Regions from separate parts of the Homo sapiens genome. Here regions 2, 3, 4, 5, 6 and 7 are each linked to region 1. Evidence: promoter capture Hi-C in 16 types of primary human blood cells and fetal thymus (Javierre and others, 2016). All regions are on one chromosome and are shown on one strand. Each heading gives the region's core, a stretch centred on a gene start or on the middle of the fragment in contact. The rest is flanking DNA. Distances are from core to core; before and after follow the strand shown. Region 1 holds the start of CNNM4 (cyclin and CBS domain divalent metal cation transport mediator 4). Region 2 overlaps NCAPH (non-SMC condensin I complex subunit H). Region 3 has its middle 76 kb from the start of NCAPH. Region 4 has its middle 75 kb from the start of NEURL3. Region 5 holds the start of FAHD2B (fumarylacetoacetate hydrolase domain containing 2B). Region 6 has its middle 56 kb from the start of NEURL3. Region 7 has its middle 14 kb from the start of NEURL3.

Region 1 (4,299 bases), core at 1,112-3,611:
CCTGCGAAATGGCCAAGAACCCAGGTGAGAAAAAAACACAAGGCAGTGCAAGGCAGCTGAAGATTTCCAGCAGACCACTGGAGGGAAGCTTACGCTGGCGCCACAATTACCAAAACTTAATCTGCTTGCTTCTGCTGAATAGTCGAAAGCGCTACTTGGCATTGTTCTGAGAAGCGAGCCAATTAGAGACCTCCCAATTCTGCTTCTGTGGGCTAGCACCTCCAGTAACATGACTCCCCTGCTCAAAAACCTGTAGCTCCCAAGCTGGGAGCAAACTTAGCGTCCACCACCGGGCCCCAAACTACTCCAGCCATTGACCACTAAGCATCAGAGCCACTATACCCACCAAACAGGACCACCTGCTGGGCCACAAGCACACTTTTGCTTCTCCACTCCGGTTCTCTGCTTGCGGGGTTCCCTCTGCCTCAAGCAGCAAGCCTCTCTACCTTTTAAGATTCTCCTCAAATGCTCCTTCCCCTGTGGATTCCCCAATTTCCCAGCCCCTTCCTGACTCCACCCCATACTCTAAATCTCCATCGCCCTGGCCTCTTTTCAGGCATCTGTCTTACTCTGTCTTGCTTCAATAGCTCCCTGAGGTCTTGCTCCAGCCCTCCAAGGGAGCGAGTATGTCTTATTCAGCTTTGATTCATCAGGAGCACACAGCACACTACCTGGCAGACGGCAGACACTTGAGAATGGGTCTACCGCTCCAAAATCGTTCACCTCAGAAGCATAGGAAGCGATAGGCAAAGGGACACAGAGTCACACAAACAGAACACTAAAGCCAGCAGACACAAAACACGCCAGGGGAAAAGAGGCGTCAAGAGGAAATTGAACCAGGGGAACTACATCTGGCCTTACCCTTCTTGAACTCCTCCAGCATGGCATCCAACTTGGTGTCATGGAAGACAAAGTGCACCGGGTGGTTATAGAAGCGAGTGATAGTCTTGAGGGGGGTGCAGTCATCGGGGTCCACAAAGGCCAAGTCTTTGACGTAGAGAATATCTACAATATTGGACTGCTCGTCTTCGAACACCGGGATGCGAGTATAGCCGCTTTCCATTATCTCCGACATGGTGTTGAAGTCCAGGATGGCATCGCTGCGGATCATGAAGCAGTCCTGGAGCTGGGTCATGATATCCTCTACAGTTTTGGTCCGTAGTTCCAGGGCACCCTGGATCATATTGAGCTCCTCTTTCACGAGGTCATTATAGGGCTCCGTCACCTTCAACATCTCCATCAGCTTCTCCCGGTTGTAAACAGTGCGAATCTCCTGGCCCAGAAAAAAGTCCAGGAGCTTGCTAATGGGAAAACTGAGGGGGAAGGTGAGTAGCATAAAGAATTTGGTGAGAAGGATGGTGTTGGCACCCACAGCCAGCCCATGTCGGGAGCACAGGGCCTGAGGTAGGATCTCCCCAAAGATGACAATGCCAATGGTGGAGGAGGCCACCGCCATGAGGCCGGACCCGATGAGGTTGTCTAGAAGGATTGTGAGGGAGGTGTTGACCAGCACGTTCCCTAGGAGCAACGAGCAGAGAAGGTAGTTGCCCTTGCGCCGGATGGGCTCAATCTTGCGGGCATAGCGCCTCTCCTTCTCGGTGCCACAGTTCTGCACGATGCGCAGCTCCATGGGGTCCAGGGCCATAAGCCCGAGGTTGAGGCCAGAAAATATGCCCGACAGCACCAGCAGCACCGTAATTAGGAGAATGTGCAGCCAGAGAGGCAGGAACCTCCCAGGCTCCTCCACCATGAAGAGCAGTGAGTCCTTGTCCGTCCACTTCAGCCAGGGCCCGTCGGGCTGGGCCCGGGTGCACAGTGCATACAGCTTCATGCTCTCGCTCCTCCGGAGGAACTTGGTGAGCACCACCAGCACGCCGGACGTGTTCCCGCGGCTCACGTTGACCAGCTGCTGGACGACCAGGTCCTTGGTGAGCTCGAGGCAGCTGGTGGACTTGTGGAGGGTCTCGGCATCGTCCACCTCGGTGAAGGAGATCAGGTTGCTGGAGATGTTGCCCAGGCTGTAGCCGTACAGCCTCAGGTTCACGGTGCTGCCCTCGGACACGAAGATGATGCCATCCGGGTTCGTCCCACACGACTTGTTGCAGCTCGCCAGCCTCATGCCCACGATCGTGCCCTGCTGGGGGCTGCCCTGGCCCCGGGCCCCCAGCGCCCACAGCAGCACCAGCAGCACCGGCGCCGCCAGGAGGAGGCGCCCGCGGGCCGGTCCGCCGACCGGGCGCCCGCCCCCGCCCACCGGCGCCATGTTGCTCTGGCTCTGCCGCCGCCGCCGCTCCCCGCGCCACGCCGCGCGGCCCCGGTCCGCACCGCAGCTCCGGCCGCTCCGCTGCCGCCGAGCCAACTGCCCGGGCCGCGAGCCTGACGTCAGGTCAGCGCCCCGCCCGCCCCGCCCCGCCTGCCCACGCCCCTCATTTGCATTGGAGGCCCCGCCCCCGGGGCTCGCTGCTTGAGCGCCCGCCCTTAAGGGGGTACAGTCGCTTAAGGTGGAGCAGCGCCGCCGCGCGAGAGCCGCCAGCGGGTACCCGCCCAGTGCTCCGCCTCCGCGCCCTTCCCCGCCTTTCTCTGCCAGTGGGGCCAGCTCTCCTTCTCCGGGACCTGGTCTCCTAGCTACGCCGTTCCTGTTCCTCGGCCTCGCACGGCCGCACGTGGGAGGCTCCTCTCCCGTCCCTCACCTGCAGCTAGGGGTGGCCCGCTCTGCAGGCAGGGCGAGAAAAGTGCTTTTCCTGATGTAGAAAAAGAAAAAGGAAACCTGAGGGCTTAGGCTGGCATTGCAGCCTGCCCCTTGGAGACTTTTCTGGCCTCCTCACTGCTGAGATTTTTGCCGACCTTGTCCTAAGGCCAGAAGTAGGTTACCCCAGCCCCAGCCCCAGCCCGACGATGCTTCCATCAACCAGTGGCTGCCTGATGTGGAAGGCAAATCTGGGGAACTAAGGTTATAGAAGGGGCAGGCTCTGGCCTAGACTTCTCTCCTGTCTCTTCCATTTAGGCATAGATATTTATTGAACACCTACTTTGTACCAGGCACTTGTTCTAGGCTCTGACAATAGAGCAGTGAACAAGCCAAAGTCGCTGCCCATTGGGGTTTACAGTCTAGAACAGAAAACAGGAGATAAACAAGTAAACACATATATTCATTAAATCCCCCCAACAACCCTCAGAGTTAGTAGAATTATTTCCATTTAGAGATGCAGAAATTGAGCCGAGACAAAAATCCTGGTGCCTCCATACTGTCATCTCCCAGCCCATTTCTCCATCTGTAAATGGGGGTAAGAATGACAGAGCATTACTTCGCTAAGCTTGCGGGATTGTGGACCTAGACATTGAACATGACAGGACAGCTCTTTAGAATATTCTTTGGCTAGGTAGTAGTTGTTGCTACCTGCCTTCCAGGACCAAACTCCTAACCCCAAATTGTGGTGATTGATCAGCTGGGCAGCTGCTTGTGGACATGAGCAGGCAGGCGCGGCAGTGGGCCTATCCCTGAAATGACTGCTTCCTGAATGGCCCTAGCCCTGTGTCAGTAGGGTGTATAAGGAAGACCACAGCTGCCCGCCCTGTGAGGGGGAAGAAGACAGACAGATAAACATCCTTACAATAATTGCACAGGTGCACAGAGAAGATCAGGTACTGGGTTGACCACCAGGTCTCACAGCAAATCTTTTGCCAGTACTGAAGACACAGAACCCACTTTACTCCCTTCCCGCACTGACACTTGTATTTATTTTCATTTTGGTGTAATGTTTGCTAATAAAAGCAGCAATCAGTACCAAACGGAAGGAGCCTAAACAGAAAGGATCACACAATGTTGTGGGAGGAGGTGTGGTAGCAGAGAGGCCCTGACTCAAGAAAGCCCTGTTAGCTGGGATTGAGGGTTCTGTAAACTAGGCCAGCCTGGAGAAGTATGTTGCTAGTAGGGGCCCCACTCATAGCGGATACTTTGCAGTGAGTGCCCAGCAGGTCAGTTTTTTCGAGGAATAGGAGCCTTGGAATGGGCACTGGCTGAGACAGAACAAAAGCAGAACCTTGACTGCCTGTTCCTTCCCTGTCTCCACCAACCAGGAAGAGCTACCTGAATTGCCTCAAAGCAAACCCAGCTCTCCTCATCTCCTAGTGAGCTGTAACACCAGCGCCCTGCTCCACCCCTACCCCCACCTCCCATACTTAGAAACTTTCCCATTCTATTATCAATCAATTGGCTATTTTTTCCCTTTTTCTTATGATTTTATTTTTTTCTCTATTATGTCTTTTTTCTGCTTAAGTACGAATTGGCTCCTTTTATTT
Region 2 (4,299 bases), core at 1,089-3,588, 400 kb after region 1:
CTGTCTTTAAAAAAAAAAAGGAAAACCCATTACCTTAATTAACAGCCTGTCTCATTCCTGAATGGAAACCACTGTTCCCTACATGGCAACAAGGAGAGACATCCAGCTCTTCCCTCTAATTACATCCATCATCCTCATTCTGTATTCCAGAGCCTCGTGGAATGAGGCTCCTCTTTTACGAGTGCCTATGGATCACAGTCTTTCAAATATTTGCAGGTCCTTCCTTAGACCAGTGATTTCTACTTGATATATAAATCTCTGAAGTAGGAGAAATGTGACTGGAGATGTGCACAGTTTACAAGAGCACACTGAATATTTTAATATAATTCTGTGCCTCAAAAACAACTCAAATAAACCCACAATGTGCTTGTAACAAATCCAAAACTACTACTAAACAATAAATACTTGAATTAAGAAACGCCCCATTTTCTTCCACTGTTCTTCATATGACACAACTTCTAACTGCATCTTCATTTAGAATACTCTCCTCTGGGCACACTCTCAGGTGTCCCTAGCCAAATGTCCAGTGTTTAATACAGGCACTTCCAGTCACACAAATTTAAAAGTTATGCTTATACTATGCTGGAGTCTATTAAGTGTGCAACAGTATATGTCTAAAAAACAATTTACATACCTTAATTAAAAATATTTCATTGCTAAAAAATTATAATGATCATATCAGCCTTCAGTGAGTTGTAATATTTTTGCTGTTAAAGGGTCTTGCCTCAATGTTGATGGCTACTGACTGTCAGGGTGGGTGGTGGTTGCTGAAGGATGGGGTGGCTGCGACAATTTCTTAAAATAAGACAACAATGAAGTTTGCTACATCAATCAACTCTTCCTGTCACTAAAGATTTCTCTGAAGCATACAATGCTGTTTGATAGCATTTTATCCATAGCGGAGCTTCTTTCAAATTCAAAGTCAATCTTTTCAAACACTGCCACTGCTATATCAACTAAGACTATGTAACATTCTAAATCTTTTTTTTTTATCATTTCAACAATGTTCACAGCATCTTCACCAGGAGTAAATTCCATCTCAAGAAAATGTTCTTTGCTCATCCATAGGAAACAACTTCTCATCCATTCAAGTTTTATCAGGATATTGTACCAATGTAGTCACATCATCAGGCTCCATTTCTCATTCTGGTTCTCTTGCTATTTCTACCACATCTGCATACCACATCTGCAATGACTTCCTCCACTGAAGTCTTTTTGAGACAGAGTCTTGCTCTGTCACCCAGGCTGGAGTGCAGTGTACTGTAATCTCAGTTCACTGCAACCTCCACCTCTTGGGTTCCAGTGATTCTCGTGCCTCACCCTCCTGAGTAGCCAGGACTATAGGCCTGCACTACCATGTCTGGCTAATTTTTGTATTTTTAGTAGAGACGGGGTTTCGCCATGTTGCTCAGGCTGGTCTCAAACTCCTAGCCTCAAGCGATCCACCCACCTCGGCCTCCCAAAGTGCTAGGATTACAGGCGTGAGCCATCGTGACTGGCCTCCACTGAAGTCTTGAACCCCTCAAAATCATCCATAAGAGTCAGAATCAACTTCTTCCAAACTCCTGTTAATGTTGATATTTTGACCCCCTCTCATGAATCACAATTTTTTTTTTGTTTTGCTTTTCTGAGATGAGGCCTCACTTTGTCCCCCAGGCTGGAGTGCACTGGCATGATCATAGCTTACTATAGCCTCAGGCCCCCAAGTAGCTAGGACTGAAAAAAAAAGAGTATTTCTATTGAAGTAAACAATATTGATCAGAAAGAAAAACATATCTTGGTTAGTTTATAAAAACAGAATGTGAGGCCAGGTGTAACGGCTCACGCCTGTAATCCCTGTACTTTGGGAGGCTGAGGCAGGATGACTGCTTGAATCCAGGAGTTCAAAGTTACAATGAGCTCCAATTACACCACTGGACTATGGCCTGGGCAACAGAGCAAGACCCTGTCTCTAAAAAAAAATACAAAAAAACAAATAGAATGTGTAATATCAGTCAATTCAGGGAAAAAAAAAAAAAAATATATATATATATATATATATACACATATATATACATATATATGTGTATATATATATATGTATATATATATATATATATCATTAAAATCTTGTGGAAAAACAGGCAAAATAAAGAGGAAAGTATAAAGTCTTAATACACTCCATGAGAGTAGGAGAACCAGTAATGCAAGTAAGCAGAGGATGTGAATGGAATGGTTTACACGAACCACTGCTTACCCTGTCAGCAGGGACATGTGAGAAGAGCCCCAGGCAAATGAAGGAGGCAGTAATCAGGGTGCAACACCAGGTAATTCAGAAGGCTCCATGTGACAATCTCAGAAGGAGCCCCAGCAGCCTGTAGAGCCCTAGGAGACTTCCTGAGGATGTGAGCCCGTGTGTCACCTTGGGCTCGCTTCGACTTGGATCATGAGTAAGGCAACCTCACTGTATAAAGCAATTGGTGAGTAAATCCACAACTTCAATGAGAAAGCCAAGGAATCAGGTGGGCACAGTGGCTCACACCTATAATCCTGGCACTTTGGGAGGCTGAGGTGGGTGGATCGCCTGAGGTCAGGAGTTCGAGACTAGCCTGGCCAACATAGTGAAACCCTGTCCCTGTTAAAACTACAAAAAATTCACTGGGTATGGTGGCAGGCACCTGTAATCCCAGTTACTTGGGAGGCTGAGGCAGGAGAATTGCTTGAACCCAGGAGGGAGAGGTTGCAGTGAGCCAAGACTGCACCATTGCACTCCAGCCTAGGGCAACAAGAGCGAAACTCTGTCAAAAAAAAAAAAAAAAAAAAAAAAAAGGAGAAAGCAAAGGAATCAAGAAATAACTTAAAAACTGTTGAAACTTCACCAAAAAACTACACTCACTGCCCCCCTGAATTTCAGCATGGAGGCTTCAGTATCCAGCATTCTTGCCAGGTAAGGTATTTCCAAGTGTTTACTGTGTGTCCATCATATAAGCCTTTCCTTTTAGCTTTCTTTGCCTTATCTATTTGATTTCCTGGCAACACGCTTTGGCTAACACATACCACTCCTCACATTCTCCCTTTTCCTCAAAGGCACTGCCTAACTGTCATACTATCAGCCACTTGATACCTTGTGTGCTTAAAGGAACCAAGAAATAGGCTTACCCTGGTGCCTGGTTTGAGGTGAAGCTGGACCAGAGTGTCAACATTGTAGTTGAAATCTGTAGGAAGGGTGGTAGCTCTCCAATTCTGGTTCTCCAAAGTGGACTTGGTCAGAATAGTAGCAGCCTATTAATTTTTTTAAAAAAAGTGTTTTAGGCATTTTAACAGTGGGCAAAACATCTTACTTTTTTTAAAGCAGTCTGGGAAGGGTTTGGGCAGCATGAGTCTACCATCAGTCTCACAGTTCTATGTAAAAAAGTGATTTTGCTAGCATTATTCTTTTTATTCTAAATTTGATTCTTTCTGCCACTGAGTTTAGGACTATTTCTTAATAGTGCGTTTAAGGAACAAGGAAGAATGAAACCATCTGTTTGCTCTAACAGTTAAATTTATACGGAATTTTAAAAAATCACATCTGAAAGGGAAAAACGAGTAAGCACAATCCTAATAAATTCAGTACAAACCTTTGTTTTTCTAAAATATACATCAAAGTCAATATCATCTTCAAAGTCAATTTCAAAATCTTTTTTTGTACTCTTCTTTTTGTTTTCTGATTGGGAAGGAGCATCTTCTGCAGAGTGAACACAGACGTCAGCACTTCACTTCTGTGGCCTAAACTATTTACTCATTTCACAAGATCTGCTGACAGCCTTATCAAGGCTTATCAAAACCACAAGGCAGCATTGTGTCTGAGCATCACAACAGTAGGAGTGCTCAATCACACACCCTCTTTTCATCCTAAACTTATAATTTGTGTTTTGGCTAAGAAAACACATCAGAAACATATGCTTGGCCAGGTGCAGTGGCTCATGCCTGTAATCCCAACACTTTGGGAGGCTAAGGCAGGAGGATCACTTGAGGCCAGGAGTCGAGACCAGCCTAGGCAACAAAGCGGGATCCCATCACTATGGAAAATTTAAAAATTAACTGAGCATGCTGGCATGCCCTTGCAGTCCCAGCTATTCAGAAGGCTGAGGTGGGAGGACGCTTAAGCCCAGGAGGTCAAGGCTGCAGTAAGCCATGATTCACCACTGCACTTCAGCCTGGGTGACAGTGTGAGACCCTGTCTCAAAAGCAAAACAAAACATAAAACAACAGATGCTTATCCCTTTCTTTCAAAGAGACAATGCAAAACACATAAGGTCAGCACAGCCCTTTGGAGTT
Region 3 (4,299 bases), core at 1,306-3,805, 350 kb after region 1:
GCTGCAGTGAGCTATGATCATGCCACTGCACTCCAGCCTGGGTGACAGAGCAAGCTCCTGTCTCAAAAAAAAAAAAAAAAAAAAAAGTCTTATTATGCAGCTAAATTCTCAGGTAATCTCGAACTGCCTGCAGAATAGTGATAGCCTGTGACAGTCTCTGTCTGGGCAGGTGCCTAGTCTCTTTCTGTGATATGATCCTTCCTAGCTCTGACTCTAGACAGGTAAGGGGCCCTTAGAGAAAGCTTCTGCTTTCGTCCGCTGTTGATTAATGTAGATTTCCTTTATAGATGCAAATTTCTTTTACGAAAGGACAGCTTTTCAGAGCTATCCCTGCGCCTGCAGGCTCTCTGAATAGCCATCTTGAAATATGTCAAAGAAGTATATTTTGGGATGGCATATCTTAGTCTCCCATCTAATACACATGTTATGACCACTATACAAATTGTTATGGGGCCACAGGAAGATAATGCTAAGATTGGGCTTCTCTGGCCAATCCTAGGGGAACAATCAACAGGACTACAGTTGCAGCAGTGGAATGCCCTGCCTGGCCCCCAGCCCTGGACATTGCCCCATTCACCTGTCCCTCGCTTCTCTAAACCTCCCTGTAACTCTGTCTTCTGGACCCATGTGTCTGCTGGGTGTACAGCACCCAGCACTTGGAGCCAGTGAGTATCATATGTTAAGGAAAAATTGTTGGGCTTGGACCAATCACCCACCCCATTCCAGCCAGAGCCTGTCTCTTGTTTGTTCACCGACTACACACCCTATCCAAACCAAGCCTCTGGCTCTTGTCCTCTAAGTGGCACTGTTAAAGCGGAAACACGAGAAGGAATAAAGGAGCTTATTCTTTTTTCCTTCTTATTTATTTATTTAGAGACAGGGTCTTGCTTCATCACCCAGGCTTGAGTGCAGTTGTTACAGGAAAGGGGTCCTGATCCAGACCCCAAGAGAGGGTTCTTGGATCTCGTGCAAGAAAGAATTCAGGGCGAGTCTTCAGTGCAAAGTGAAAGCAAGTTTACTACGAAAGTAAAGGAATAAAAGAATGGCTACTCCATAGACAGGGCAGCCCCAAGGGCTCCTGGTTGCCCATTTTTATGGTTATTTCTTGATGATATGCTAGACAAGGGGTGGATTATTCATGCCTCTCCTTTTTAGATCATATCGGGTAACTTCCTGATGTTGCCATGGCATCTGTAAACTGTCATGGCACTGGCGGGAGTGTAGCAGTGAGGACGACCAGAGGTCACTCTTGTGGCTATCTTGGTTTTGGTAGGATTTAGCCAGCTTCTTTTCTGCAAACTGTTTTATCGGCAAGGTCTTCATGACCTGTATCTTGTGCTGACCGCCTATCTCATCCTGTGACTTAGAATGCCTTAACTGCCTGGGAATGCAGCCCAGTAGGGTTCTGCCTCATTTTACCCAGCTCTTAGTCAAGATGGAGTTGCTCTGGTTAACACGCCTCTGACACAGTGGTGCGATCTCAGCTCACTGCAGCCTCTGCCTCCCAGGTTCAAGCGATATTCGTGCCTCAGACTCTTGACTAGCTGGGGTTACAGGTGCATGCCACCACACCCAGCTAATTTTTGTACTTTTTAGTAGAGATGAAGTTTCAGCATGGTGCCCAGGCTTGTCTTAAACTCCTGAACTCAAGCGATCCTCCTCCCTTGGCCTCCCAAAGTGTTGGAATAAAGACGTGAACCACCGTGCCCAGCCGTGGTGTCTCTTCTTACAAGGTCACTAATCCTGCAGAACAGGGTCCCACCCTCGACCTCACCTCGTTTAACCCTTATTGCTTCCTTATAGGCCCTATCTCCCAATGTAGTCACATTGGTGGTGAGGGCATCAACATAGGAATTTGGAGGTGAAGGGGAGAAAAAAATGTATAATTTCTTTTCTCAACCCTCATAAGTTCCTAGCTGGGACACCTCTGTAACAAAAGACAGATCAATAGGAAAAAACGGTTGGGCTCAGTGGCTCACGCCTGTAATCCCAGCACTTTGGGAGGCCGAGGAGGGAGGATCACTTGAGGTCAGGAGTTCAAGACCAGTCTGGCCAACATGGTGAAACCCCATCTTTACTATAAATACAAAAATTAGCTGGGCGTGTAATCTTAGCTACTAGGGAGGCTGAGGCAGGAGAATCACTTGAACCGGGGAGGCAGAGGTTGCAGTGAGCCGAGCCGAGATTGCGCCACTGCACTCCAGCCTGGGTGACAGAGCAAGACTCCGTCTGAAAAAAAAAAAAAAAAAAAAAAAAAAAACAAAACAGGAAAAAAAGGAATATAATTTTTTTGGTGTGAATGTACAAATTTATTGACATGCATATGAACAGAAGAGACACATACAAAATATAAGACTCAAAGAAGGGGCCAGGCCACTGAAGTTTTTACATCATCCTGAGGTTATAGAGGGACACAGGTTATGGGAAAGTGTGTCTAACAAAGGCTGTCTTGTGGTGCAGATGAAAATATCCCTCAGCCGGACATTGTGGCTAATGCCTGTAATCCCAGCACTTTGGGAGACTGAGGCAGGAGAATCGCTTGAGCCCAGGAGTTTGAGACCAGCCCTAGCAACATAGCGAGATACCATCTCTGAAAATAATTTTTAAAAATTAGCTGGGCATGGTGGTGTGCACCTGTAGTCCCAGCTACTCAGGAGGCTAAGGTGGGAGGATCTATAGAGCCTGGGAGTTTGAGGCTGCAGTGAGCTCTCATTGCACTACTGCCCTCCAGCCTGAGCAACACAGCAAGACCCTGTCCCGAAAAAGAGAAAAAAAAAAAAAAAAAAAAATCCCAGGTAAACTCAGAGCTGCCCTCAGAAAGAATAGATGGTGGCCTTTGGTAAAAGATTCTCTCTGAGACCTTTAAAAGTGTCAGACTTCAGTGTTTATTTTCCTGAGTTAATCTTTCCTAGATTCAGATAAGGGAGGCATTACCCCCAAAACCGGGTTTGTTTGCCTGGTGAGTAACAAATGACTCTCCATGAGGATGCAGGTTTTGATCAATAAAAGTTTTATTACCTGGCCCAAGTAGGTAGAACCCTGGGAGTATTCTCCAAGGCAGTGTCCCCTGAGGGAAAGTGACAGGAGGGTTTCATGGGGCGATGGAGGGGGAGAGGATGTGTCTTCGCATGTGGAGGAGGGGTCCCAGAGGTGCAGACGCAGTGATCCTCATGCCAGCACATAGGTCGCATGTGATGGTGATGGAGCTGAGCTGCAGCCCTTCCTGGGGTGGAGACTTTAGCATGGTAACAAGAAAGGTCACTTGGGTTCATCTGTAAGTTGCTAGGGTCTGTTGGGAGCTGGTTTGAATCAAGTGGGTGACTGCATTCTAAACAGGGCTTGGAAGAAACAGGCTGCAGGGCAGGAGGCTGTAAAACAGGCTGATAGGCTGGGCGTGGGGGTTCAAGCCTGTAATCTAACACTTTGAGAGGCCAAGGTGGGTGGATCACCTGAGGTCAGGAGTTCAAGACCAGCCTGGTCAACATGGTGAAACCCTGTCTCTACTAAAAATACAAAAATTAGCTGGGCGTGGTAGCACGAGCCTGTAGTCCCAGCTACTCGGGAGGCTGAGGCAGGAGAAATCCTTGAACCAGGGAGGTGGAGTTCGCAGTGAACCGAGATCACACTCCAGCCTGGCACTCCAGCCTGAGTGAAAGAGCGAGACTCTGTCTCAAAAAAAACAAAAAACAAAACAAAACAAAAAAACCCAAAACAGGCTGATTGCTTAAGTTGATTAAATTCCTATAATCCTTTGAGATCCCCCAACCCCCTCACCCCTGCACCCCACTTGCTTACAGGGTCCTCAGGGAAAGCCTGGGCATTGATTTCACTAACATAGATTTTCTCTCCAGGTGCAACTCTCCCTCACGAAAGGCAGCTTTTCAAAGTCCTTCTTCTGTTTGCAGCCTCTCTGAATAGCCATCTCAAAATAAGCCAAAGAGGTATATTTTGGGGTGAAATATTCTCGTTTCCTTTGGGGGAACACAAACATTCAACCCATAACAGAGACAGTCCCTGTCAATGTCATGTGTTAACAGTCAGGAGGCAGCCCAGGGTGGAGCGGCAGGCTGGAGACCCGGGATTGCTGGGCTGAGATCCGGCTGGGGCATCCCTGAGAGCAGGAGGTGGCTGGACCGCGGGAGGTCAGTGCCTGCCTGGCGGGGAGCCCCAAGGGCACCTGTCTGGGCTAGCCAAGAGGAGAGCATCCGCCCCGGGAGGAGTGCAGGCAGGACTCCCGCTGACAGGGCCTGCTTGGTAGATGCTGGGCAAGTAATTAGAGAAGGGACGATTACCCACCAC
Region 4 (4,299 bases), core at 622-3,121, 330 kb after region 1:
TAGGAAGAGTGTGTTCAGGGTTATGAATATAGCAGGGCAATACACGAATTTTAGAAACAGCATAAAAAGTTTTTATTAAATTGCAAATTTTGACATATTAAGAAAAGCCAAGAGTACAAGATTAAGTTATATTAGAGGAGAATATTGCTTAATTTTGACCTTTAAGATGAAACTTCTTAGCATTAGGCCATTATAACAGTGAGAACTGAAAGAAAAAGTTACAGGACCTGACAAATACTGAAGGAGTTATTATCTTAAGACTTCTTCAGAGGAGAAAAAGCTGAAAGCAGCAAGATATAGCAAAAGTTGAACTTCTGAAATATAATTTTGAGAAGTTTTAAAAAGACATTTATAAAATTTATACTTTTAATTTATAAAATTAAAACTAAAATTTCTTGCAATTTTATTAAGAGTAGATTAATGTTATGGGATCTTTGGGGTGTTGCTTTTTCTGGCCAGAAACCTCTGTGGCTGGTGGCACCTTTGCCTGAGTTTTGTTTGGGCCTGTTGGGCTTGTTCCAGTCACTCGGCCTGGCAGGCTGCACTCGGCTCATGTTACTGGCCTGGGTCCCACGCCTGCCAAGGGCAAGTCAGGCATGGAACAGCAAGGGGTGTGTGAGTGAGAATGGGGTCCAGCCACTGCGCACAGTCAGACATGCCAGCTACTGCAACAGGATGGACAGTTCCAGGTGCCAGCATGGGGGCCAGCTCTCCGCGAGGCTACAGCTGGACCAGGTGTACTGCAGGCAACTTCCATGGTGGGCATCAGGGTACATGGTGGCACCCAGAAGCTTGGAGACACCAAGAACCATAGGGGCCCAAAGAGGGAGTCACAGCCCTGGCTCAGGGAGCTCCCAAGTCTGGGCTCCTCAAAGGGCCACAGCTCTTCTCTCCTTCTCTTTCCCCGTGATGTGGTGAGCAAGGGACATGTCTCAGGCCTGTTTGTGTTAATGCTCTTTTAGCCCCACCATTCAACAGGTCCCAAGTTCTTATCCTGTGACAAGGAAGAATGAGGTACACAGACAGGTGGAGGGTGAGCAAAACAAAGAGGAGCTTTATTGAGTGATAGAACAACTCAGTCTCCCACATGAGCAGGGGGCAGCTCCTTTCTGCAACCAGGCTGTCCCCACTAGTGTTCAGCTCCTGGCAGAGAGGGGACCCTGGAATAGGAAGTTCCTCTCTGCAGGCAGGTCATCCCATTGTCTCTGCAGCTCTCAGCAGAGAGGAGGCCCTGGAGTGGGTTGCTCCTCTCTGCAGGCAGATCATCCCGTCATCTCCCCAGCTCTCAGCAGAGAGGAGGCCCTGGAGTGGGTAGCTCCTCTCTGCAGCTGGTCATACTGATATCTGCCCAAGTTTGGCTGAGCCTGGGGATTTTATGGGCCTGCAGGGGAGGAAGTGCACAGCAGTTGGTCCATGGGTGGCCATGGGCAGGCCTGGAAAAGGCACTGTAAGTTCCCACTCCAGTCCGTGGGACTGGCAGCCTGGCCTCCAGCCTTCAGGCCCTCCCTGGACTGAAGGTGGGGCTTCATTGGGACTTGCCCCCTTCTGCCCAGGAGGCTGTCTGCCTCCTGCTGTGGTTCATGGTGCCCAGGCTGTTCATACCAAAGGCTGCCTGCAGGCCAGCGCTGCTGAGCTGGCCTCAGTCCTGCCTTGGCTTCCCTTCCATGCTCATCCGCACCCAAAATCTGGAGGGTTCTGAGGTAACAGGGGCCTGGTGTGTCAGCACTGCCCCAAGTGTGTGCACACCCAGCCAGGCTGCAACAATGCCCAGGCTCAGCCCCAACTTTGCTCCAAGATTGGAGCAGGCACTGACAGCAGGGAGAAGCCAGGCAGTGGGAGCAGGCACTTCCAAGCCTGCAAGGGCAGTGGGGGCCTTCTTGGGCCCCCAAGAGTGCAGGGATGCCTAGGTCCACAGGTGTAGTTTGGGCAGCTGCAGCTGTATCCCAGGGTCAGGGCTCTTGCTTGCTCCATGGAGTGGGAGCACAGGGATGTCTGGAACTGGAACTGTGTCTTGGGTGGCTGCAGCTGCATCCAAGGAGCTCCTGCTTCAACTCAGAAGGGGTAGGGCTCCTGCTTGTCCCCCACTTTACTGGCTTCATTGAGCATGAAGCCCCAGCCATGCCTCCCTGCTGCAGCTTGTGTGATGGCAGTGTCAACTCCAGATGGCCCACTGCTGCCATCATTAATACCTTAAGAAAATTTTGTTTCAATGTAGGGAACCAATGTTAGAACAACTATAACTTTTAAATAGCTTTTGGATTAGACAACAATTATTTTCCTTTAGTTAAGAAGTTAAGGTTTGTACTGCACATTGCTGTGTGAGTTCTGTGAAGGGGGAGCAAATGAGGAGGTGATCTACACACTGTAGAAGTTAGTCCCCCTTAGAGATTGCTTGGTTAGATTTCTTGCTAGGGTTTGTCTGAATAAGTGTGGGCTATTTTTAACCCTGGAGGTAAGACTATCTAGGTGAAGGTTATTGGTTAAAGATTTAGCTGGCATTCCTGGGAGAAATAGGGCTATTAGAGGGAAAGATGAATTCAGAAGTTGGGTAAATATTAAGCAGGCACCCATTTTGGAAAGTATATTTTTGTCCCAAAGGAGTTTGGGTTATTTAGATACTATAGGGACTGTTGGGAGAAAGGTCGTTGGTTCCTTAAGTAATATAAAGGGGTGTGAATTTTTTGGGGGAGGGAGCAGGTGCTGCTTGCCCTCATTACCTGACAGAATTTGGAGGAGAGTTGTTCAGGGAAGATTAGTACAGAGTAAGTAGCTTTTGAACTTAAAAGGGAAATTTATAATTTCACTTGCCACCTTCAGAGTTGCCCTTGGTTTTGTTGTGTTGATGGTGGTGTCTGATTTGGAAGCAGCTGGAGCAGAGAGCCCCTTCAGTTCAAGGCCACCAAGGGTTGGAATTCCATCCTGGAGGCACTTCAGCCCTCAAGGAAGCTTCATTTCCAGTGGCTGAGCTTGTGGCAGAGCCATGTAGAGCTTTTTCCCATTTATCCCATTGGGGTAGTTTGCCTTCCAGTGGCCTGGCAACTACCTGGAGAAGTTTCCTTAGAGCTATGGGGAGGGGCTGGGGCTTGTACAGCAGCCAACAGTTGAGCTTGCCTTTTGTCCCTGTATTTTTCTTTCTCCTTAGCCCTGTCCTCCTTATTCTGCTCTTGGTTACAAAAGACTGAGGAGACTAATTTGAGGATTTTCTGCAGAGGGGCCATGCTTTATTTCACAAGAAAATTAGACCTTCCTTTTTGAGGGTTTGGGGGTTGAATTTGTCCCAGTGCTTTGGAATGCAGCCTAGAAGTGAGTTTGAAGGAATAGATGGGTCCGACGGAAGGACTGGAAAATGAGCCACTCAGGGCTAACATCTCCTGGGGACATGAACCACACATTCTCTTGGGGCATCCCACTGAGGAAAAGGGTTTCACTCATGTCTGCTTAGGGACTTGGGTGCATTTTCTTTTTTTCTTTCTTTTTTTTTTTTGAGATGGAGTCTCGCCTTGTCACCCAGGCTGGAGTGCAATGGGGGGATCTCAGCTCACTGCAACCTCTACCTCCTGGGTTCAAGTGATTCTCCTGCCTCAGCCTCCCCAGTAGCTAGAGTTACAGGCATACGCCACCGCGCTCAGCTAATTTTTTGTATCTTTAGTAGAGATGGGGTTTCACCATGTTGGTCAGACTGGACTTGAACTCCTGACATCGTGATCTGCTTGCCTCGGCCTCCCAAAATGCTGAGATTACAGGTGTGAGCCACCTCGCCTGGCCTCAGGTGCACTTTCTAAAGGGGTGTCCCACCCATTAGAAAAGACCTCTTCATGCTGGTGCCTTATGCCAGATGGCCAGTCCAGGTATGCTGTTATGCTGGGTGATTAACCCAGGTATGAGGAAAAAGGGTAAAGGAACAACTTGGCTTGGTGCCAGTCCAGGAGAGGGGGTGGGTAAAGAAAGATGTACCATTCTGAGGCTGTCTGGGATCACCTGATTTAGCAACATCCAGAGCAAGATGACTGGGTGACTCCACAGGAGAATTTAGAGTGAGAAAGAGAGGATATGAGTCACCCAAAATGTGTGTGAAGTCACTCTGAATGAGCTACCGCTGCCAGTCATGTCATACATAGGGATTAGGGACCTTTGGCCAGAAAAGAGAGAAGAGGGAATTTTCCTCCATCACAGGCAAGGCAGCCAACCCTGTTCACCCTTTGGCCTTTAGGCAACACTGAGTAGCAGCCCCAGCTGGTTGCTGTTAGTTGCTAGAGGGATACTAGCAGCCGGCTGCTGGAAGACTGAAAAGAGAAAATA
Region 5 (4,299 bases), core at 628-3,127, 330 kb before region 1:
CCATGCAGATAGCCTGTTCTCAGGAGGGACCCTCAGGAGGGCGGTGGGTTGGCACAAGCTGCGGGTGGGCCAAAGCTCAGGGGCTTGGAGAAGGAGAGAATCTGAACCAAGGTTTGGTTACAGGCATTTTGTTCTTATTGATCTGTGGGAACAAGCAGTCCAGCTAATCATTTATGATGCCAAGAATGGGAATTTAGAGGGTCTGTGTATGGTCTGGTCATGAGGGGACATTCAGGATTCTTATCCAAGCTATATGGAAAGTCACTGGTTCTTTCCAGTAGGGTGTTTTCTGGAACAAAGGAGTGGAGGGATTCCTTAATCTTCACTATTTCTAGGAGCAAAGGGCTAAGGTGCAACTCAATACTGTCAATAGTTAGGATTGAAATGGCTAGGTCATATGGTAGGAGTATGTTTAACTCTCTTCATACACTGCCAAATGATTTTCAATTGTAGTGATACTATTTTATAATCCCATAAGCAGTGTACAAGAATCCCAGGTCCTCCACATTCTTTCGAATACTTGGTATAATCAGTCTTCTTTGTCCATTCTAGTAGGTGTGAGACGGTGTCACACTGTGCTTGTAATTTGCATATCCTTAATTATTAATGATGTTGAGCATCTTTTCATGTCTTTCAATTTTCTATCTGTATATCTTCTTTGGTGAAGTGTCTGTTTAAATATTTTGTCCATTTAAAAAATTGAATTGTTTGATTTTATCTATTGATTTTAAGTGCTCTTTCTATATTCTGGATACAAGTCTTTTATCAAATATAGCCTCTGAAGATCTTTTCTTTCAGGCTGTAACTTAGCTTTTCAGAAAGTCTTTGGGAGCTATGGCTTAATGAAACACTTACGCCAGGTTCTCCTCAGCACATCCCCCTGATCACAGCCACCCCCATAGGCTCCATTTCTTTTTTTTTTTTTTTTTTTTTTTGAGACAGAGTCTCGCTCTGTTCCCCAGTGGTGTGATCTGGGCTCACTGCAAGCTCTGCCTCCCGGGTTCAGGCCATTCTCCTGCCTCAGCCTCCCGAATAGCTGGGACTACAGGCGCCCGCCAACACGCCCGGCTAATTTTTTGTATATTTAGTGGAGACGGCGTTTCATAATGTTGGCCGGGATGGTCTCGATCTCCTGATCTGATTCGCCCACCTTGGCCTCCCAAAGTGCTGGGATTACAGGTGTGAGCCACCGCACCCGGCCATAGGTTCCATTTCTATATCAGTGGTGACTTTCTGCAAGCTAGGCTGAAGTCCCAAGCTCCAGACCCACGTCTCCAACTGCCCACCGTTCAATGCCCTTTGGATGTCCCATGCAAATTGGAGCTCACTATCATCTCCCCAGACCCGCTGCTCCTCCAGAAGCCCTGTCTCCATGAACGGCCCTGCACCTACCGGGCTAGAGACCCAGGAGCCGGCCTTGTACCTGCTTCCTTCTCACTTCCACCTCCTGTCATCCAGAGCTGTCAGTTCTTCTTCCTGAACATCTCTGGACACTCACCTTCTCCGCCAAGCACCGCACCACCATTGTTCTCACCCGCACCACCCACCCAGATACCTTTCCTTAGACGGGTGGCCAGAGAAAAACTTCTCAAATAGAAGTCGGGCCATGGCACGCCACTGAGGACCTTCCAGCGGTCTCCTGTGCACTTAAACGAGGTCCAGACTCCTTTGTGGGACAAGTAAAGCTCTTGATGATCTGGTCCTTGAGTAATGTGGGGGCCTCTTGCCCAGAGCCCCTCACACTCTTCAAAGCCGGCAGCTGAAGAGCTGAGCAGTAGCTGTCTGTGGAGTTCAGCCACCGCTCCCCGCACGCCTGCCCTCTGCAGGGGATGGAGCACCGTTTCCCCACTTCCCCACCTGCGCCCAGCAGTGCAGGTGAAGGCCTGGCTGCGGAGAGTGGCTGGGAAACGCTGAGCTTTGGGGTCAGGAATGCCAGCTCCACTACTCACCGCCTGTGTCACCCTGGGAAAACAGCTCTGGCCCCAGGTTCTCCATAAGTAAAACAGGGTCACTCATCCCTCCCCTCCTTAACGACATATGTCAGAATCAGAAGCCACAAATCATTCTCTCCCACCCAGCACGCTGCCTTGGTCTCCTAGACCACTTTCCCCAACAATGGGAAAGGCGCCAGGCCCAGAACAAGGCCGAGACCGGATGAGGCCAGCGAAGCGCCCAGGGACAAACTTTCAGGCAGCGCCCACTCTCGGTCTCGGGCAATTGCAGGGTCCCTCCGAGAGCGACCGTCTCCAGAAAACGCGGCCGCCGCCTGCCTATGCCCTGAGCCTGAAGAGCCCCCGGCGCCGCCCGCCCCGCACTGGGCCCGCCCTCCGGGATTGGTGCCCTGCTAGGGGTGGTTGCCTGTGACGTCACAGGACGCGCCCGCTTCTCGCTGGAGTGCGCACCGAGCGGCAGTGACTTCGCCGCTGCTGTAGTTCCCCGGCTGGATGCGGTGACTGGTGCCAGTGCTCAGGCGCCCGCTGCCCTTGACCTCCCGCCCCGCGAGCCCTAACTCAGCGCAGGAGGACCGGCTGCCGCCGCCGCCGCCGCCAGGTAGACCAGGCCTGGCTGGGTTAGGCCAGAAGGGTGTCCCTGGCGCAGGTCTCCCGCGGAGGGCAGAACTAGAACCAGGTTCCCGGCCGTTTCCGACCACACGGATGGGGCGGACCCATGTGAGCCCTCACTAATTGCAGGGGACGAAGCTGGGCATATGGGGAAACTGGGGGTTTCCAGGCGAGTGGACGGTGGGATGGGATCCGACGTGCACACCCACGTTTCAGGCTACTGTTTCCACCTCACGTCGCCGCCCCTTTGCTTATGGACTCTTGCAGAGTTGGATTGAGCTCGGACTGTGTGACATAGTGGTTGTTGCAGAAGCCCCAGGGCCACTTTCTGACTAGTACCTTGGGCACCTGACGTCATCCCTTTGAGTCTCAGTGTCCTCTTCTGTAAAGTGAGGGCGCTTTACCTGAGGGGATTGCTGTAAGGTTGGAATGAACCTGCATGTGTGTGTCATGTGGGAAGGGAACAGTCAATGGGGCCTGGAGTTCTCTTGGAGAGCTGGTAACCAGCCTCGTCCCTGAGGCAATAGCCAGAGAGCGCCTGTAGTTTCCCCACGCATGGCTGTTTGCAGGGCCTCTGGAGGATCTCCTGTGGGAGGTCCCTACTTCTCACTACAATCTTTAGGGCCTTTGGAGGATTTCCTATGGAAGGTCCCCACTTCTCACCACAACATTCTGGGTTAAAATGTCCTTGGTAGGAAGATGGGGCTGAAGCTAGATTTTCTTGCTTGCATTACAGGCTTCTGAACCAAGGACTTCAATGTCACCTGGACTTGGATTCACATCCCAGCTCCCTCCCCTCCTAGCTTTAAGACTGTGTAACCTTGGGCAAATCCCTTAACCGCTTTAAGCCTTAACTGTTTCATCTGTAAAATGGGACTAACAGTACCTACCTTCCACAAGCGTCAAGAATTAAATCAGGCCGGGCGCCGTGGCTCACTCCTGTAATACCAACAATTTGGGAGGCCGAGGTGGGCGGATCACAAGGTCAGGAGATCGAGACCATCCTGGCTAACTCAGTGAAACACCGTCTCTACTAAAAATACAAAAATTAGCCGGGCGTGGCGGCATGCGCCTGTAGTCCCAGCTGCTGGGGAGGCTGAGGCAGGAGAATGGCATGAACCCGGGAGGCAGAGCTTGCAGTGAGCCAAGATTGCGCCACTGCACTCCAGCCTGGGCGACAGAGCGAGACTCCATCTCAAAAAAAAAAAAAAAAAAAAAGAATTAAATCAGACATTGTAGGTAGAGCACTTAATAGTTGGCATTCAGCGGCAGCAGTTACTGTTATGTTAGCATGTGGAGTGTCTGAGTGTGTGCACTTTGGCTCGAACAGCCTTTTGACAGTGGCACAGTTGGTGCTTGTGTAAGATAGCAGGGCAGAGAAGTCAAAACTCTGTTTTCTAGTCAAACTGGCGGGCCACAACAGTGGTGACCTAAGTCTAATGAGTCTTTAACTGAACAAGGCAGATTGAATCTCCAAGTGAGGACCAAGAGTCTGGGGCTCAGCTGCCTCAACATTTTTGGGCATAGAAGGCTGTACAATACAAACTGCCTTTGTTGGAAGAGCAAGGAACCATTCAGGGAAGGCACCATGTGGTAAGGAATAGTGGCCAGACTTGGATTCAGAACAAAACAAGAGAATAGTGTTTGTCTTTAAGTGGAGCCTTGGACTCAAAACAGGACCTGAGCTCTGTGGATAATTTCTTTTTTTTTTTTTTTTTTTTTTTGGAGTCGCTCTGTT
Region 6 (4,299 bases), core at 964-3,463, 310 kb after region 1:
TGGAAGGTTCCCAGAGGAAAATGACCTTCCCAGGCTGCAAGTCTCATTAGGACTCCTTGGCACAGATAGTCCAAAAGTCCCCTGCTCTAACAGTCTACCTAATGGACTTGATCTTGCAGCCACATGCAGTAATGATATAACTAGCATTTACTGAGCACCAACTATGAGTTAAGCACTGAATTAACCTTGTCCTCACAACCCTATGACATGCACACCTTGTTGCAGTGAAGGGCACATAGCTAGGAAGTGGCAGATCTGGGGTTGCTAGCCATGTAACCTCCATCATGTTACTTAGCCCCTCTGAGGCTCAGTGTTCTCAGTTGAAAATAAATACATAACAGTATCTGCATCTTGAGGATATTGTGAGAGTTCATGAGTGATATAGTTTGGATATTTGTCCCTGCAGCTCTCATGTTGAAATGTGATCTCCAATGCTGGACGTGGGGCCTGGTGGGAGATGTTGGGTCATGGGGGCGGATCCCTCAAGAATGGCTTGGTGCCATCCTCTTGGTGATGAGTGGGTTCTCTATTAGTTCACGTGAGGGCTGGTGGTTTAAAGGAGCTTAGCACCTCCTTTCTCTTTTTTGCTCTCTCTCTTGCCATGTGACACTCCTGCTCCCCTTCACTTTCCACTATGAGTAAAAGCTTCCTGAAGCCACACCAGAAGCCAAGCAGATGCTGATGCCATGCTTGTACAGCCTGCAGAACCATCTGCCAAATAAACCTCTTTTCTTTACAAATCACCAAGTCTCAGGTATTCCTTTATAGCAACATAAAACAGACTAAAACAATGAGCTAATACATGTGAACACTCTAAGACCAGGCATAGAATCAAGCCAAACTAGTGGTAGCTATGGCTGGCTACTCAGTAGATTCATTTCTGAGTTTGGAACACTGACATCACTGAGACCTTGAAATTGAACTTCAAGGGGGCAGTGGCTGGAGACTAAGCAGAAGGAAGCCCTCTTGGAGGCAGTGTTTTCCAGCACAGGGGGCCTCCATGACCGATAGGACTACTCATTTGTACTTGGAATCATTTTCTAGCAAATTTAGTTGGCTTGGTTAACATCAACCAGTGGAGACTTATGCTTCCAAAATGGAATAACAGGGACTAGATTACCCTCCCTCCAGAAACAATGTAAACAAACAAACAAACAAACAAACAAAAAAGAGACAAAATATTCAAAATATTGCAGAACTGAACGGGCTCCATTTGCTCATTTGCAATGGAAAGCCCAGCACCAAAGCATCAGATTTTTTAGAGAGAAAGGTTTATCGGAAGGCAGCTGAGCAAGGAGATAGTAGATGGGCTCAAGTTGGTCTCCCCAGTTTGTGGTTTGGGGCAGCTTTCGTGGACTACAGAGGACAGGTTGGTATGCAGAAGCACTGGCAGGGCAGGTTTTGATTGGAAAGACTTCAAACAAGACTATTTATGGGAAGGCACGAGGAGAGGTCTTATCACCAGACATTCCTGGGCTCTGATGGACCGCTCGCTTTTCAAAGCTTTCCATGTTGGGGTTCCAACTATGTCCTGATCTATGGTTTCTAGGGAGTGTGGCCAGGCTTTAGTTCTGGGTGTTGAGGTTGAAGTCTCCTTTTCTGCCCGCACTCTGGCTGCATGATGTGCACTTTCTTGACTCTGTGCTTGTAAAGTAACTTGACAACCTGTTATCAACACAATAGGGCTAGCTAGAAATGTCCCTGCAGTTGGGAGACCACATAGGGCATTAGAACTGGTCCTGTGGTTACAAAAATACAGATAACAAAGGCTTGGAAGATGTTGGACATCAGACAACAAAGACAGTCATCCCTGAAAGATAAAAAATAAAAGATATGAGCCCTGTGATTGACCTGCTGACTGCCCGGAGTTTCCAGGCCTCATGCAGGAAGGAGGAAGCCAGATAGGATCCAAGGCTCCTAGAATTGAGAGGACTGAGCTGGGAATCTGAGCAGATTGGAATTCACAGGACAGAGTAGGAAGGGAGAAAGACATAGAGCTCTGGAGGTCTGAGCACTGGTCAGTGCGTGCATGTAAGAAATTTACATGTGTAATTGTAATTTCATGTATAGCTTTCTTCTCTCCAAAAGTGTTAGAAAGAACCACCAGAAAGGATTACAGGAAACAGTCCTGGGATAATATAGTCAGAAAGAGTTTCAGTTCCCACCAGCAAGAATATAAAACTTCATAATTCATGAGGGATTGGGTAAATTATTCAGAAGGTCTTTAACTGAGTGGGGCAAAATTAGACCTAGACTAAAAGCTGCTGGCCACACTTAATCAAGCATAAAAGGAAAAAAACAACTGTTTCCATGTTACTTGTGTGCATCCCAAAACACAATGGGAGAATATTTAAAGGAATGTGTTATAATATAGGGCTAGAGATTTTATTTTATTTTATTTTATTTTATTTATTTATTTATTTATTTTTTGAGACGGAGTCTGGCTGCATGCCCAGGCTGGAGTGCAGTGGTGCAGTCTCAGCTCACTGCAACCTCAGTCTCCCTGGTTCAAGCGATTCTTCTGCCTCAGCCTCCCAAGGAGCTGAGACCACAGGCATGCACCACCACGCCCAGCTAACTTTTGTATTTTTAGTAGAGACAGGGTTTCACCATTTTGGCCAGCATGGTTTCAATCTCTTGACCTCGTGATCTGCCTACCTTGGCCTCCCAAAGTGCTGGGATTACAGGCGTGAGCCACCACGCTCAACCAGGGCTAGAGATTTTAAAACATAACAATTTAAAAATAAAATAAAGGAATATGAACAAATCCAGCCACTAGCAACGTGAGATTCAAAATGTCTATCATCCAATCACAATTTATCAGGCACAAAAAGAAACAATAAAAATATGACTTCTGTCGATCTTAAATAATGAGATTTACAGAATCTAATTAAGTGCAGAGTTTATTCAAGAGCAAAGCTTGAGGATATCCACCCAGGAAAGCACCAACTCCACACAAAAGGAGTCAGTGTTTCCAAAGTGGAAGAGTTACAGTTTTGCTTAAGTGGACAGAGACAGAAAAGCTCCAGCAGGATTGCAGTTTCCATACGAGACCAGGTACAGATGCCACAGTGATTTGATTGGTGCAGATTGCTACATTCCAAGGAAGATTCTTCATTACTCCATGACGGGGAGGAGTGATTTGACGGGGTCTGATTTCTGGTGCCGTTTGGTCTTAATTACTTACAGAGGGAAAAAAAGGCAGGAGTTGCAGCTGCATACTGCCTCACTGAGGCTGTGTAGCCAAAGGCCTGCAAGGCTCAGGATAATTTAAAGTTCCAATAGCTTTAAGTTTGAATTATTTTAAGCTTGAGTTACTTAATGTTATACTCCTAATCAACAGAAAAATTGCTCAATCAAAACTAATCAAGAAATGACACAGATGATGCAACTAGTAGAAAGCAACTTTAAAAACTATAATTATCACTGTATTCCACAGGTACAAAAAGGAAGAAGGAAGACTGATCCTGTTAAGTGGAAATATGGAAGGCACAGAAAGAATGTAAACTGTACATCTATAGATGAAAATTACAAGGTCTGATATAAAAAAAATACACTATGTATGATTTTTTTCTTTTTGAGAGGGAGTCTCGCTCTGTCACCCAGGCTGGAGTGCAGTGGTGCGATCTTGGCTCACTGCAACCTCCACCTCCTGGGTTCAAGTGATTCTCCTGTCTCAGCCTCCTGAGTAGCTGGGATTACAGGCATGCACCACCACACATGGCGAAGTTTTGTATTTTTAGTAGAGATGGGGTTTCACTATGTTGGTCAGGCTGGTCTCGAACTCCTGACTTCATGATCCGCTCGCCTTGGCCTCCCAAAGTGCTGCAATTACAGGCATGACAGGCATGAGCCACCAAGCCCAGCTGAGCTTTTTTTGTTGTTTTTTTTTTTTTGCTTTTTTAGACAGAGTCTTATTCTGTCACTCAGGTTAGAGTGCAGTGGTGCAATCTTGGCTCACTGCAACCTGTGACTCCCAGGTTCAAGTTATTATCCTGCCTCAGCCTCCTGAGTAGCTGGAGTTACAGATACCTGCCACCACATTCAGTTAATTTTTGTAGTTTTAGTACAGAAGGGATTTCGCCATGTTAGCCAAGCTGTTCTCAAACTCTTGACTCCTGCAATTGGAGTCTTCAAAGTGGAGGACAGAAAAAATATTTTTAAAAAATTATAATGAAAAAATTCCAAATTTGATGAAAACTCTAAGCCTACAGGTCCAATAAACAAAATTAATATCAAGTCAAAAACATAAAGAAAACTACTCCAAGGCACATCATAAACCAATTTTTTTTTATTAGT
Region 7 (4,299 bases), core at 898-3,397, 270 kb after region 1:
ACTCCAGCCTGGGCGACAGAGTGAGACTCTGTCAAAAAAAAAAAAAGCCTATACTAAGAGCTTTTCAACTTCCATTTCAAGATGATAGACTGAGCACATGTAGTTGTTTCCTTTTATTCCAAGTCTCTATACATTGCTCAGAATGATTTAAACAAATATATTTCTTCCCTATAAAACAATATAGGGAAAATCTGGTGAACTAAAACCACAATAAAAGGTGGAAAACAGGTGGGATCAGATTAAATATGGAAACCGTGCCAGAGGAGAGGACTGCCGCAAAAGGTGAGAGCAGCTCTAGGAATGCTTCAAACTCAGGACTTGTGAACTGGGAACCGCAGGTGGTCCATGATCGACTGACCGTGACTGGTAGAGGCTCACAGAATAGACAGCCAGGAATGTTCACCTCAGGCCACACAGTGAGTCACAGAGGTGTCTTCCCATGGGCAGGATCAGTGAGAGGTGAACAATTGGGTGTGAGGCAAGACAAAGCCCCAGAGATTAACAGCTCCCAAGGATAGCAGGAAGCTTCCACATCTGGAAGTTTCACCATTGGCTCATGCTGCCCAGCAGCACATCCCATCCCTTCATTCCACTTTACACAGGTACACCAAGTCATAGCTGCATGTCCTGCACCTGTCTGCAAGCAGGCCACTTAGGCTAACAAGGAATTTCAGATCCAAAGGTGAACTCACAGCCAAGAAAAGCCAAATATTTGAAAAAAGTGAATATCATGATGGAAAGGACTGACAGCAAAAGGAGTTCATACCTGAAAAAATAGGGTTAATAAAGCATACAAACCTGGGCTTTAGGATAACTATAATCACATATGAAAGGATATTGCATTGAAAAATCTAGATACCTTTGGAATTAGAAGCTTGACTATTAAAATTTAAAATAACTTATTTGATAGAGTGAGTAGCAGAAAGTATGTAGCTGAAAAATGTATTAATGATCTGGAATCAACCAGAATGCATTCCAAAATTAACAAGAGATGAAATATATAAAAAGAGAATAAACAGAATAGATGAAGTTCAAATAACCATCCAATGTGAATTCCAGAAGAAAAAAATAGAGAAAATGGACAAAAGAGAAACTCAAAGAAAGATTAGAGCTGGGCATGGTGGCTCATGCCTATAATCCCAGCACTTTGGGAGGCCAAGGTGGGAGGATCGCTTGTGGCCAGGAGTTCAAGACCAGCCTGGCCAACATATAAGACTCCCATCTCTACCAGAAATAAAAATAAAAGAACAATTTCTCAGAATTGAAGAAAGACATAGCTTTTCAGATTGAAAAAGCCCCCCAGTTGCCAAACAGAATAAGTGAAGAAAAGACTTTCATTTTGACACATACTGGTGACATTTCAGAGTACCAGGGATAAACAGAAAACCCAAGAAGAAAAAAAAAACACCCCAAAACAGATCACACACAAAAGTATTAGAATCACATTATCAGTAGGCTTTTTCTCAGCAATACTTGGTACAGAATGACAATAGAACAATATCTTCAAAGTTCAGGGGGATTTTCTTTAATTGAAGCATATTTACTATAATAATATGCACATATCTTTTTTTTTTCTTTTTGAGACAAGGTCTCACTCTGTCATCCAGGCTGGAGTGCAGTGGCACAATCATGGCTCACTGCAGCCTCCGCCTCCCTGGCCTCAGGTGATCCTCCCACCTCAGCCTTCAGAGTAAGCTGGGACTACAGGCACATGCTGCCACACCTGACTAATTTTTTAATATTTAGTACAGATGAGATCTTGCAATATTGCCCAGGCTGGTCTTGAACTCCTGGGCCCAAGTGATCCACTTGTGTTGGTTTCCCAAAGTACTGAGATTATAGGCATGAGCCACTGTGCCTGGCCTATGCACAGATCTTAAGTCCCCATTTTGATGAGGAAATAATTTTGAAATCTAAAATTCTGCAGACAGCGACTCTCTCATTCAAAGGTGAGCGTAAAATGAAGAAATATTCAGATATAAAAAGACTCAAAGTTTATCATTTAACAGATACTTTATAGGCAAATTATTAGAAGAATCACTTCAGAAAAAAGAAAAAACAAGAAAAATTAGTATGATTGTAACCATTAAAAGCAAAAAAAGTTGAATCTAAGTAAATGTTAATTGTAAAAAATTAATAATAATTTGAAATGAAAACCACAGATGATATCAACATGGGTGGAATGGCAAAAATAAAAAGCATGCTAAGGTTCTTTTCTTATCAAGAAGAGGGTTTTTAAAATTTTTTTAGTTTTTTTGAGACAGAGTCTTGCTCTTGTTGCCCAGGCTGGAGTGTAACATTATGATCTTGGCTCACTGCAACCTCTGCCTCCTGGGTTCAAGCAATTCTCCTGCCTCAGCCTCCCGAGTAGCTAGGATTATAGGTGCCTGCCACCATGCCTGGCTAATTTTTGTATCTTTAGTAGACAAGGTTTCACCATGTTGGCCAGGCTGGTCTTGAACTCTTGACCTCAGGTGATTTGCCCGCCTTGGCCTCCCAAAGTGCTGGGATTACAGGTGTGAGCTACCACACCTGGCTAGGAAGAAGTTATTTTTAACAATATAAATGAGAAAAAAATAAGTTTAATTTGTATGGTAAAGAACATACAAACAAAATGTAGAACTACAAATAAAATATATAAATTCCAAATCATGTGAAAATAATAGAACTTCAATTCCTGCATCCCAACAAAAGTCAGGAAATTGGATAAAAGGATTTTTAAAAATGTATATAGTCTAGCCCTGTCATCCAGGCTGGCACAATCGTAGCTCACTGCAGCCTCAAATTCCTGGGCTCCAGCTATCCTCTTGCCTCAGCCTCCCAAGCAGCTGGTACTCCAGGCATGTGCTACCATGCCTGGCTTCTTATTTTGTTTTATTTTTTATTTTTATTTGTAGAGACTGAGTCTCAATATGTTGCCTAGGCTGGTCTCAAACTCTTAACCTCAAGTGATCCTCTGACTTCAGCCTTCTGAATAGCTGGGATTGCAGGTGCAAGCCACTGCACCTGCTGAGACAACACACTTTCTGATTTTGAATTATACTACAAAGCTATAGTAATCAATACAGTATGGTACTGGCATAAAAACAGAAAAATAGATCCATAAAACAGAATAAGGATCCTAGAAATAAACCCATGCATATATGATCAACTTATCTTCAACAAAGCACCAAGAATACAGAATAGGGAAGCGACAGTCTCTTCAATCAATGGTATGGAGAAAACTGGATAGCCACATGAAAAAGGATAAAATTGGACCCTATCTTACACTATGCACAAAAGTCTACTGAAAATGGATTAGACTTAAATGTAAGACCTGAAACCGTAAAACTCCTAGAAGAATGATTTTTTGGATATGACATCTAAAGCATGAGTAACAAAAGCAAAAACAAGTGGGACTGCATCAAACTAAAAAGCTTCTGCATAGCAAAGGAAACAATCAACAAACTGAAAAGGCCACAGTAGAAAATATTTGCAATATTTTGTATACAATAAGGGGTTAATATCCAAAATATATAAGGGACTCATATGACTCAATATTAGAAAAACAAATAACCTGATTTAAAACTGGGCAAAAGACCTGAATAGACATTTCTCCAAAGAAGACATAACAATGGCCAATACGTATATTAAAAGGTGTTCAATATCACTAATCATCAAGAAAACTGCAAATAAAATCCACAATGAGATATCACCTCACACCTGTTAGAATGTCTAATGTCAGAAAGTCAAAAGATAACAAGTGGTTGTGAGGATATGAAGAAACAGGAACCCTTATATACTGCTGGTGGGGATACAGACTGCTACAGTCATTATGAAAAACAGTGCGTTTCCAATTGCATGGCTTAAAAAATAGGAACACAGTATGCAGGTTCCTCAAAAAATTAAGAATAGAACTATCATATGATCTAACAGTCTCACTTCTGAGTATGTATCTGAAGGAAATAGAAGCAGGATCTTGAAGAGATGGCTGCCCTGCTATGTTCACTCCAGCATTATTCACAATAGTCAAGATATGGAAACAACCTAAGTGTCCATTGATAGGTGAATGGATAAAGAAAATGTTATATCTATGTATTTATTTTTCAGCCTTAAAAAAAGGAAATCCCGTCATTTACAACAACATGGTTGAACCCGGAGGACATTATGCCAAATGAAATAAGCCAGACACGAAAAAGCTGAACTCATAGAAACAGAGTAGAAGGGTGGTTACTAGGAGATGGTGGTGGGGAAAATGGGGAGATGTTGATCAAAGGGCACAAACTTTCAGTTATAAGATGAGTAAGTTCTGAAGACCTA

What was found. Contacts are between HindIII fragments. The CHiCAGO score rates a contact against its expected background, and 5 or more counts as called.
Region 2: a fragment that was not itself captured here is called in contact with the fragment with the promoter of CNNM4 in region 1 in 1 of 17 cell types (naive CD4 T cells); the score reaches 5.3 in naive CD4 T cells.
Region 3: a contact is called between a fragment that was not itself captured here and the fragment with the promoter of CNNM4 in region 1, in 10 of 17 cell types (naive CD8 T cells, naive CD4 T cells, total CD8 T cells and 7 more). The highest score is 12.2, in naive CD8 T cells.
Region 4: a contact is called between a fragment that was not itself captured here and the fragment with the promoter of CNNM4 in region 1, in 1 of 17 cell types (total CD4 T cells). The highest score is 5.1, in total CD4 T cells.
Region 5: a fragment that was not itself captured here is called in contact with the fragment with the promoter of CNNM4 in region 1 in 1 of 17 cell types (non-activated CD4 T cells); the score reaches 5.0 in non-activated CD4 T cells.
Region 6: a contact is called between a fragment that was not itself captured here and the fragment with the promoter of CNNM4 in region 1, in 1 of 17 cell types (non-activated CD4 T cells). The highest score is 5.0, in non-activated CD4 T cells.
Region 7: a contact is called between a fragment that was not itself captured here and the fragment with the promoter of CNNM4 in region 1, in 4 of 17 cell types (non-activated CD4 T cells, erythroblasts, naive CD8 T cells and 1 more). The highest score is 7.0, in non-activated CD4 T cells.

The regions. Positions count from the first base shown.
Region 1 is chr2:96,758,964-96,763,262 of GRCh38, reverse strand. It overlaps CNNM4 (cyclin and CBS domain divalent metal cation transport mediator 4), which reads right to left and starts at 2,361. Exons shown (of 7, transcript NM_020184.4): 1 at 862-2,361. The coding sequence starts at 2,263. RefSeq lists enhancers at 1,136-1,724, 1,604-1,853, 1,725-2,314, 2,874-2,923 and silencers at 1,817-2,000, 2,124-2,543. The HindIII fragment of the contact is 3,226 bases long and covers 91-3,316 here.
Region 2 is chr2:96,359,550-96,363,848 of GRCh38, reverse strand. It overlaps NCAPH (non-SMC condensin I complex subunit H), which reads right to left. Exons shown (of 18, transcript NM_015341.5): 11 at 3,600-3,706; 12 at 3,139-3,261. Among named protein-coding and RNA genes, the nearest start is that of NCAPH, 26 kb to the right of the region's middle. The HindIII fragment of the contact is 7,104 bases long and covers 1-4,299 here.
Region 3 is chr2:96,409,916-96,414,214 of GRCh38, reverse strand. No RefSeq gene overlaps it. Among named protein-coding and RNA genes, the nearest start is that of NCAPH, 76 kb to the right of the region's middle. The HindIII fragment of the contact is 4,622 bases long and covers 245-4,299 here.
Region 4 is chr2:96,427,830-96,432,128 of GRCh38, reverse strand. No RefSeq gene overlaps it. Among named protein-coding and RNA genes, the nearest start is that of NEURL3, 75 kb to the left of the region's middle. RefSeq lists an enhancer at 3,474-4,299. The HindIII fragment of the contact is 2,155 bases long and covers 794-2,948 here.
Region 5 is chr2:97,092,952-97,097,250 of GRCh38, reverse strand. It overlaps FAHD2B (fumarylacetoacetate hydrolase domain containing 2B), which reads left to right and starts at 2,369. Exons shown (of 9, transcript NM_001320848.2): 1 at 2,369-2,550. The HindIII fragment of the contact is 5,521 bases long and covers 1-4,299 here.
Region 6 is chr2:96,446,995-96,451,293 of GRCh38, reverse strand. No RefSeq gene overlaps it. Among named protein-coding and RNA genes, the nearest start is that of NEURL3, 56 kb to the left of the region's middle. The HindIII fragment of the contact is 1,416 bases long and covers 1,506-2,921 here.
Region 7 is chr2:96,489,397-96,493,695 of GRCh38, reverse strand. No RefSeq gene overlaps it. Among named protein-coding and RNA genes, the nearest start is that of NEURL3, 14 kb to the left of the region's middle. RefSeq lists an enhancer at 61-720. The HindIII fragment of the contact is 2,542 bases long and covers 877-3,418 here.